2 separate regions of the Homo sapiens genome follow, and region 1 is linked to region 2. The links are contacts of gene promoters, found by promoter capture Hi-C in blood cells and fetal thymus (Javierre and others, 2016). All regions are on one chromosome and are shown on one strand. The core of a region is centred on a gene start or on the middle of the fragment in contact, and the rest is flanking DNA. Distances in the headings are between cores, read along the strand shown.

Region 1 (4,302 bases), core at 1,581-4,080, 350 kb before region 2:
TAAATACATTAAATATGTAATTTTTATATATGATACGTTTCATGGGGAAAAGTACACACACATTTTTCTGAACATTATGAGGAAAGGGTTACAATAGGCCAACAGGAAAAGAATTTACTGATGTTTTTACAATGTGATTCTCTATTTCAAATCCACTCTATACATTTTTTAGAGGGATGCATCAAGGTGGGATTCAGCCAAGCTTAGGAACAAGAGCTGACATGGAAGGACTGGGTGATAAGCATGACCTCACATGAGATGCTATAAAACACTATGGGCCACTCCTCTCTGCCTCACAGGTACAATTCTTAATTACTTAACTCAGTTAAACAGAGAAGCACTGAAGGCTAGGTTCTATGCAAGCATGCAACATCACATGCCAGAACTGACTACGCAATATAAATGGACCTCAAATGATTAAGGTTGACAACCTCTAAAGCATACTAGAAAACTAGTATTCTACTACATGCATTTACCTTGCTTCAGAAGAACTGACACCTGCTTAAAGTTGCTATTCATGGAACTCAATTATTTTGCAAAGCAGTATAAGTGCTTACCTATGTTTAACCATTTTTTGATCATGGCAAAAATGACTAAAGAATCTTGCATAGAACAAGTGCATGACGGCATGTTCTTTCCCTCCAATGTACAAATCCACAGGCATCCAGTAATCGGCCACTGCTGTGTTAAAAGGGCTGTAAAAAAGAGATGGAGGCATTTTTAAAAACCTGCTTTGCCACAATTGTGTAAATTAAACAGGCCTATTGTAATATGCATATGCCCTGAAATGAACCGTATCAGGGAATAACAATGATTTTTTTAAAATATAAGAGAAGGCCGGGCGCGGTGGCTCATGCCTGTCATCCCAGCAGTTTGGGAGGCCGAGGCAGGTGGCTCACCTGAGGTCAGGAGTTCGAGACCAGCCTGCCCAACATGGCGAAACCCCATCTCTACTAAAAATACAAAAATTAGCCAGTTGTAGTGGTGGGCACCTGTAATCCCAACTACTCAGGAGGCTGAGGCAGGAGAACCACTTGAACCCGGGAGGCAGAGGTTGCAGTGAGCCAAGATCGTGCCATTGCACTCCAGCCTGGGCAACAGGGTGAGACTCTGTCTCAAAAACAAAACAGACAAACAAACAAACAAACAAACAAACAAAAATATATATATGAGAAAAGCTTATATAATAAAAAAGAAAAAAGTCAGGTAAGTGTTAATTTATGAAATTATAAAAATGGTTACAGAAGATATTACTGACATATTTCAACAAAAGCAATTTGCATATAAAATGAGGACAAAAGGAAAACATACCAGCAAAAAAAGGCATCTTGCTACAATGCACCTTGAATATCTAGATTCACTTTAATTTTTATTATTATGATTACACAATTGAGATGTCAGAGTTCCTACCAATAGAGGGCAATGTGGTATTTACAATGAAGATTAACATGCAGATACTAAATGTTTATTTATTAATTTATTTTCACATTAAAAAACATTTTTTTTTCTTTATTAAAGTTTGGGTCTTGCTTGGTCACCCACGCTGGAGCGCAGTGGCACAATCATAGTTCACTGCAGCCTCCAACTCCTGGGCTCAAGCGATCTTCCAGCCTCAACCTCCCAAGTATCTAGGACTACAGACACACACCACTCTGCCCAGCTAATTTTTTCTTTTTTTTTTTTAATTTTCTTTTTGAGACGGAGTCTCGCTCTGTCACCCAGGCTCGGTTGCAGGGGCGTGATCTCGGCTCACTGCAACCTCCGCCTCCAGGGTTCAAGCTATTCTTGTGCCTCAGCCTCCTGAGTAGCTGGGATTACAGATGCCTGACACCACACCAGGCTAATTTTTATATTTTTAGTAGAGATGGGGTTTTGCCATGTTGGTCAGGCTGATCTTGAACTTCTGACCTCAGGTGATCTGCCTAACTCGGCCTCCCAAAGTGCTGGGACTACAGGTGTGAGCCACTGCACCTGGCCATCAGTTAATTTTTTTAAAACATTTTTTATGGAGACGAGGTCTTGCTACGTTCAGTCCAGCTGGTCTTGAACTCCTGGCCTCAAGTCATCTTCCTGCCTCGGCCTCCCCAAGTTATGGGATTACACATGTGAGCCACTGTGCCCCAGCTGTAAATGTTTATTTTAAAATAGAAATTTGATTTTATTTTTTAAAGCAGTCTGAAAATATACTCAGCTAGAGACTGTATATTGCTTACTGAATGCGATGCAACATATTTAAGGTGACTTGTCATATAATAGCCCAATAACTCTCACCTAACAGATACTAATAGAAAGGCTTTCTCATACTCTTGGGTCCTAAAGGACACTGGAGAGGAAAGGAAATGTCATTTCCATTTTCTGGCTGGGACCTTCGGTGGGAGGGGCAGCACTGGCTGGCGACAGACCTCTGTGTTGCCAAGGTAATGCCGTCCCTTGAGGTCAGCCAATCAAGCAAACCTTTGCCTTTGGAGGACTTCGAATATTTGTGAATTGGTTCCCTGACACCTCAAGCCACCTTTTTCCCCAGGATAGACTTGGCTGGCTTCAGCTTTGAGGCTAGAAAAAAGAGCCTGGCTACCACCACATATTTGCATCTTAATATAGTTTGGTGTTCTCCAGTCACTGTACCAGAATTCTGATAAAATTTTTAAAAAACACTTTTTTTCTTCGTGAAAAACAGTTCCCTAAAGAAATTCAACTGCCAATCCAGGCGACAGAAAAGAAAGGAAAGTGAAGGATGGTATTTGGCCGGAAAACAAGTTTGGGATATATTAAGGAGTGAAATGTTGAAAGTAGCTACAGCTCAGATTTATGATCCACTCAGGAAACCACCCCAGGAAGAACTCGTGCTGGGGCTGAAGCTAACTACAGTGTGTCATGAGGGAAATGAAGTGCTCACTGCTGTTCACAAACTGGGGGCTGTGACGGTCTCAGGATGTCTCTCCCGCCACGGTAACTTGAGGTCTCTCTCATCTGTGTGAAGGCTTTCCTTTGAAGCACTCTGAGAAAGGAAAGAGCCTGACCTCACTTGCATTCTAAGCCAGTTGTTACTACATGAAATGCACCAATGGCCCCTTATAGAGGGAAGGCCCTGAAGGGGAGCCCCTCTGTGGGCCAGAGAAGGCCATGCTGGTGGTTCCCAGCCACAGTCGTCACCTTGCACCCTTCCTGCCTTTGCAGGGTGTCTTTCACTCAGGATCCCCCTCATTTCTTTTTTTTCTTTTTTTTTTTTTGAGAGGAAGTCTCACTTTGTTGCCCAGGCTGGAGTGCAGTGGCACGAGCTCAGCTCACTGCAACCTCTGCCTCCCGGGTTCAAGCGATTCTCCTGTCTCAGACTCCTGAGTAGCTGGGATTACAGGTGCGTGCCACCGTGTCCAGCTAATTTTTGTATTTTTGGTAGAGTTGGGGTTTTGCCATGTTAGTCAGGCTGGTCTCCAACTCCTGACCTCAGGTGATCAGCCTGCCTCGGCCTCCCAAAGCGCTGGAATTACAGGCGTGAGCCACCATGCCTGACAAGGATCCCCCTTATATCTGATATGAACTCAAATTACAGAATCACAACACTGCAGGTTGAAATTCTGGCAGGGTGAGGGCAGGAGTATCTGTCTCACTAGAAAGATATTATTTTAGAACCACGAAGAATAGGGAGGCATATTTTATATGTAGGCAACAGGGTTCCAGAATGTTTCTGCCATGGACAAGAGCAATTAGGCAAGGCCCTTTTAAGCACAATGCTGTGTTTTTTCCTGGGCTCTGGAAGAGTTTCTTTCGGTTCTCATTCTCTCTCTTTATAAGGCTACCTACTGCTCTCTTTTCCTTAATTTGTTTCTTTTTTTGGGGGGGGCGGGGTTCAAATAAACACATGAATACAGCTTAAAAATCAAAATGGTACTGAAAGATTTACAATGAAAAACAGTGGTCTCCAGCCCCAATTCTTTCCTTGCCTCAGGCCTGTCTCTTAGCCACTTTTAATTCTTTTGGTTGTTTCTCCCAGCAATTATTGAAAAAAAAAAACATGTTTATACTCTTTATTGATTTATCAATTTAGGAAATGATCTACTATGTAGTAAGAGGTGAGGCTTCTTAGCGGTCTCACCCTCCCTACCTGCTACCTTCTCTGTAGAGTTACATTATTCTTTTCAGTTAAATAAATAACATTACATCTTTACAATCATACAAATGCAGTTCACTGCAAGGAGGGTATCACAGTAGCATTTCCTTCTTTTTCCGTTTTGTATTTGTGTTGTACTTGGGATTTACTTGGCTGTGAATAATCTAACTTAATGATGTAGCACTCTCCCTTTA
Region 2 (4,605 bases), core at 937-3,436:
TGTTTTTAGTAGAGATGAGGTTTTGCCATGTTGGCCAGGCTGGTCTCCAACTCCTGACCTCAAGTTATCCACCCACCTTGTCCTCCCAAAGTGCTGGGATTACAGGCATGAGCTACTGCACCCAGCCGAAAATTTACCTTTCAATCTCTCATTTCTCTCTAGCACTAGATTATAGTTACCTACGTTGCTTTCCAGTTCAGAAATAACCTTTTAAAATTTACTCCTTCCATTCAGCCATGTTTGTAAAGACAAAACATGTCCATTCTTGGCAATGCTTTGTTCACACTCCACTTGGAGGACCAGGACAGTATGTCAGGACATCTTTACTTCAACTATGTAGTTGGGTTGTCACGCAAAGGATGCTGAAGTGCCTCCCTATTTTCTTCTTTCTCGTTGCTGCTACTTTCTGGAACCACCACCAATGCTTCATATTTGGGAATTAGTGACTCTCATTCCATTTTCAGAAAGCTGGTGTCAACTATCCCAAGAAAGACAGTTAAGCAAACTTTGGAGAGACGAAATAGTAAGGAAATAACTTGTTCCTTAGGCTTAACTTGTCAAGCAATATTTCTGATATTTTGCATTCAATACACTGCCATTCTAGTACTGTTGTGGGTATTACTGTATGTGGGAAACAATGGTGTCATGGATGTTAGGAAAAGATGCTGGGATATATATGCCTGCTTAGAATCAGGAGAAAAGACAAATCTCCTTTCACCCTCCTGGTCAGCATAAATATTTTTAAAGATTGTTTAGATTTTTGTCAAGATTTCTTTCTCTTGATGAATTTGTCCTCGATTCAGTGGGGAGAACCAAGAGCCTCTCTTCGTTTCTCATCCTCTCCCTTCCCTCTAGTTCTCAGTTTTCCCATTTTTCTGCACAAGGACAGAAGTGGACTAGAAGATTACATCTAAGGTCCCGTTTAGCTCACGATACAGGCCCTCCCAGAGGTGGGGGTGTGGGCAGGGTCATGTTCCAAGTTCTGCCTCCCTCGATGGACTGTGGGCTCCCAGAGGGCAGAGCTAGCTCTATTCTCATGATTAAGGACATCGAGAAGGAAGGGGTGACGCTCCTAGGAGATGATTTCCCACCCCTGTCCACAAGGAGGATTGGGGCAGCCTGGAGAGGCTCAGTGCCCGCAAGAATTAAGCAGAAGTTGGGACTGGACTGTAAACTGATGCTGTCGCACATGCTTTGGTTCCTGTCCCAAGCCTCCCAGGTTGCTCCGGGTGACTCTGGCCCAGCTTCTGGCTATCCATGAACACAAGTAGTCCCAGGGAGTCATTCTGGCAGAACCCAGGTCTGCTAGCTAAGAACTCCTGAACCATCCGCAATCTCTGCCTGTGGCCTGGACTTGGTGTATGGCCGGCAGGGTGGAAGGAGAACCCACAGGGCCTCTGAAGACAGGCAGGTGGCACACCTGCGGCTGGGAGGATTTGGAAAAGGAGTCCAGCGCCATTCATTTTTCATTCATTTTCCAGCCCAACGTTTGACCTGAATGCTTCACGCTCACACTGCACACACTACTCCATTTATAATACAACTCGAGAAGGGCACATACTACTCCATCCACAGCTCAGTGAAGGGATGCATACTACTCTACTCACAATTCAACGAAGTGGTGCATCTGCCTCTAATTTACTAGCTACCCTGGGGACCTTGGACACGTTGCGTGTCTGGAAATACTGCAGGTGATGTGTGTGGAGTAGGCTGCAGGCTCACCGTCCTGCAAATACTAGCTGTACCACCACCGGCTTTAAAGTCCAACAGACCTCTGGCCCAAGTCAAGTAGCAGAGGATCCAGGGCTTGGGTGGCCCACAAATAGGATTCTTCTCCAAAACGAGGCGCATAATGGCCTTTGTCTCCTCGACAGAAAAGGGAAGGTAGACTGGCTTCCTCTATGGGCGACCTTCGCGACTCTGGAGAAAAAGACCTCATCATTCTCAGACTTGGGAAGGAAGACTAAGCCCGGAAAGGTGGGGACAAGTCCGCTCCAACGCCGCAATGGGGAGTAGTAGGGACCCAGCAACCCGGTGCCGGGAGCCCTGCACCCTGGGAGGGAGAGGCGGTCGCTGAGGCAGGAAGAGGAGGAGGAGAGAGAGGAGGGACGCACCGGGTCAGCTCGCGATCCTGCTGCGCAGGGCGGGGCTCGGGCCGGTCCGCCCGCGCGCAGGTGAGTGAGCCAGGGCGGAGCGCAGCTGCGCCGGGCTTGGGCGCCTGGGGCCGCCGCTCCCCACCGTCGTTTTCCCCACCGAGGCCGAGGCGTCCCGGAGTCATGGCCGGCCTGAACTGCGGGGTCTCTATCGCACTGCTAGGGGTTCTGCTGCTGGGTGCGGCGCGCCTGCCGCGCGGGGCAGGTGAGTGCCGGGCTTTGGAGGCGGATGGCGTGGAGTGGTGAGCTAGCCAGCCAGCGGACGCCCGGCGGAGATGCGGCCGAGGGACGCAGGGTGCGGAGGGTGCGGAGGGTGCGGAGAGAGGGCGGGGACGGCGTAGTCAAAATGCGCGGGTGGCTCCGGGACCCCCGGACTGTTCGGTTCCTGCGCGCGCCGCGTCGGGCGCGTGGGCCTTGCCCTCCTGGAGTCAACCTTGCCCTCGGCACGTGAGAGTGTCCCCGATCGGGGAGCCTCCCGGTCCGGGAGGATGAGCCCGGTGCTGGCCGAGAAGGCGGGAAAAGGAGCTCCCGGTAGCCGATCCCAGGCGACATGTCCAAGGTGGCGCGCCGTGCGCCCCAGGGTCTTTGCCGGGATTCTTGAAAGCACCCAGGCAGGGTGTGGGAAGAGATCTTTCCTCTCCAGGCTCGCCCTCTACCTCCTCGCCTGGTCCAGAGAGAAGGTGCAAAAAAAGTGCTTTCACGTCCGCATTTCCCACTAGATCCCCTTTTTCCCGTCCGCACGCTGCATTCCCCCTCTCCTAAAGTTGAAGAGCGTTGGTGCAAAAATGAAAGCGCCCGGATTTCTTTTAGGGGGTCCCAGAGAAAGCCGCCAGGCATCTGCGCCACCGCAGAGACTGGACATTCCCGCGCCCCTCGCACTTTTTGGCAGTGGACTTTGAGGGCAGGAGGCTGTTGTTCCGGGGATATGTGTGAATTTCGAGTTGTTTCGGTTGGGGGAAGGGACCAACACGTCCCAGTGACCTGTGCCAGCCAGGAAATGCCCTGTGGGCCCTGGATGTATTAGAACGTAGTAAATAACCTGGTTTCTTCATGTAAGAACTTGATGTGAGGCTAGTACAGGTTTCGCGAGATTAGTACAGGTTTTGTGTTTTTTAAATAGAGCTCTCCAGGAAGCCATGTGGGTTTGATTCCCCTTGCTGCATCTAGGGTGGATTTGTGTTTGGCAGGTGTAAATTAGATAAAGGAATAAAAGGACGCAAGTGAGGTTGAATTTGGGCGTCCCGGTGACTGCCGTCTTTACAAATACAAGACAGGAGCTTCTAAAATATCAATATAAGCTCCAGGAATACTTCCTGGTTCATTCTCCAACATCAGGTGACATATTGCTGCATAGTAGATAGAAAATTTAAAACTTCATTTAAACCATGGCATGGATTTATAAATATATATATAAATTATATATATTAAAGTAGAGACAGGGTTTCACTGTGTTGCCCAGGCTGGTCTCGAGCTCCTGAGCTCAAGTGATCCTCCCACCTGGGCCTCCCAAAGTGCTGGGATTACAGATGTGAGCCACTGTGCCTGGCTGATGAATATTTACTATAATTTCTTAGGACTGAATTTCCAAGATTCCCTTTGAAGAAAAAGAATTAGTTTAAGAATAAAAAGGAAGTGAAAATATGTGTATATGTGTGCTGAGAAAAATGCGTGCCTACCAGTCTTGGAACAGTATTGAAACTCTGGGAATTATCTGAGATGTTTTTGGCTTTCTGTGACAACAGTGGGGAACTCTTCCAGTCAGAACAGGGTGTTAATCAAGGCATTGCTAATAATGAGAGCCTCTGTTCCTGGTCTCATTTCTCCCTGTGATCTGGGAAGGCTGCCATTTTGGTCCAGTAACTCCAATGGAGTCCCTTCCAGGAAGTCCTTGACTGGCTGAGCCCTGTCTCATGGTTCAATACATAAATACGTAGAAACCTAGGAACTTTCCCTTTCGCTTTCTTAAGTTCCTCCCTATGGTCTCAGGAACTGGCCCTTTGAGGGTACATCAGGCTGAACTGAGAGCTTTTGTGGTTGGAGTAGTTGCCTGTAGTCTTGAGGATCTAAGTGGCAAAGGCCTTTGAGAAATTCCTGGAGACTGTCCTGAAAGGATACAGAAAGCCAGAGCCCTGGCACAGTGGATTTGTTTTATAAATCCATGAAGTCTCTTAACAAAGAAAGACTCAGCAGAGTAAAAATGAATTTGGTGTCACTGCAGAGATGAAAAGTAAAGGAAAGTTTGTGTCTTGGTGTCGTGTGTTTGTGTGACTTTGGTATCCCCACCAACTCCCCCATTTCCAAGAGTGAAACACTGGTTACATTGGGATCATAGCCTTTTGAAAACCTCCATTTGGTTGCTTTCTAAGAACCACTCAGATACCAGAGTCTGGGTCAGTGACCCCAATCTTGCCACCATTGTCTCTTGCCAAAAATGTGAGCAGACAGATCAAAT

What was found. Contacts are between HindIII fragments. The CHiCAGO score rates a contact against its expected background, and 5 or more counts as called.
Region 1: a contact is called between a fragment that was not itself captured here and the fragment with the promoter of CDCP1 in region 2, in 1 of 17 cell types (M1 macrophages). The highest score is 5.9, in M1 macrophages.

The regions. Positions count from the first base shown.
Region 1 is chr3:45,496,835-45,501,136 of GRCh38, reverse strand. LARS2 (leucyl-tRNA synthetase 2, mitochondrial) reads right to left here. Exons shown (of 22, transcript NM_015340.4): 15 at 558-695. All of the region lies in intron 2 of LARS2-AS1 (LARS2 antisense RNA 1), which reads left to right. Among named protein-coding and RNA genes, the nearest start is that of LARS2-AS1, 11 kb to the left of the region's middle. The HindIII fragment of the contact is 3,300 bases long and covers 1,181-4,302 here.
Region 2 is chr3:45,143,959-45,148,563 of GRCh38, reverse strand. CDCP1 (CUB domain containing protein 1) reads left to right here and starts at 2,186. Exons shown (of 9, transcript NM_022842.5): 1 at 2,186-2,358. The coding sequence starts at 2,277. The HindIII fragment of the contact is 9,970 bases long and covers 1-4,605 here.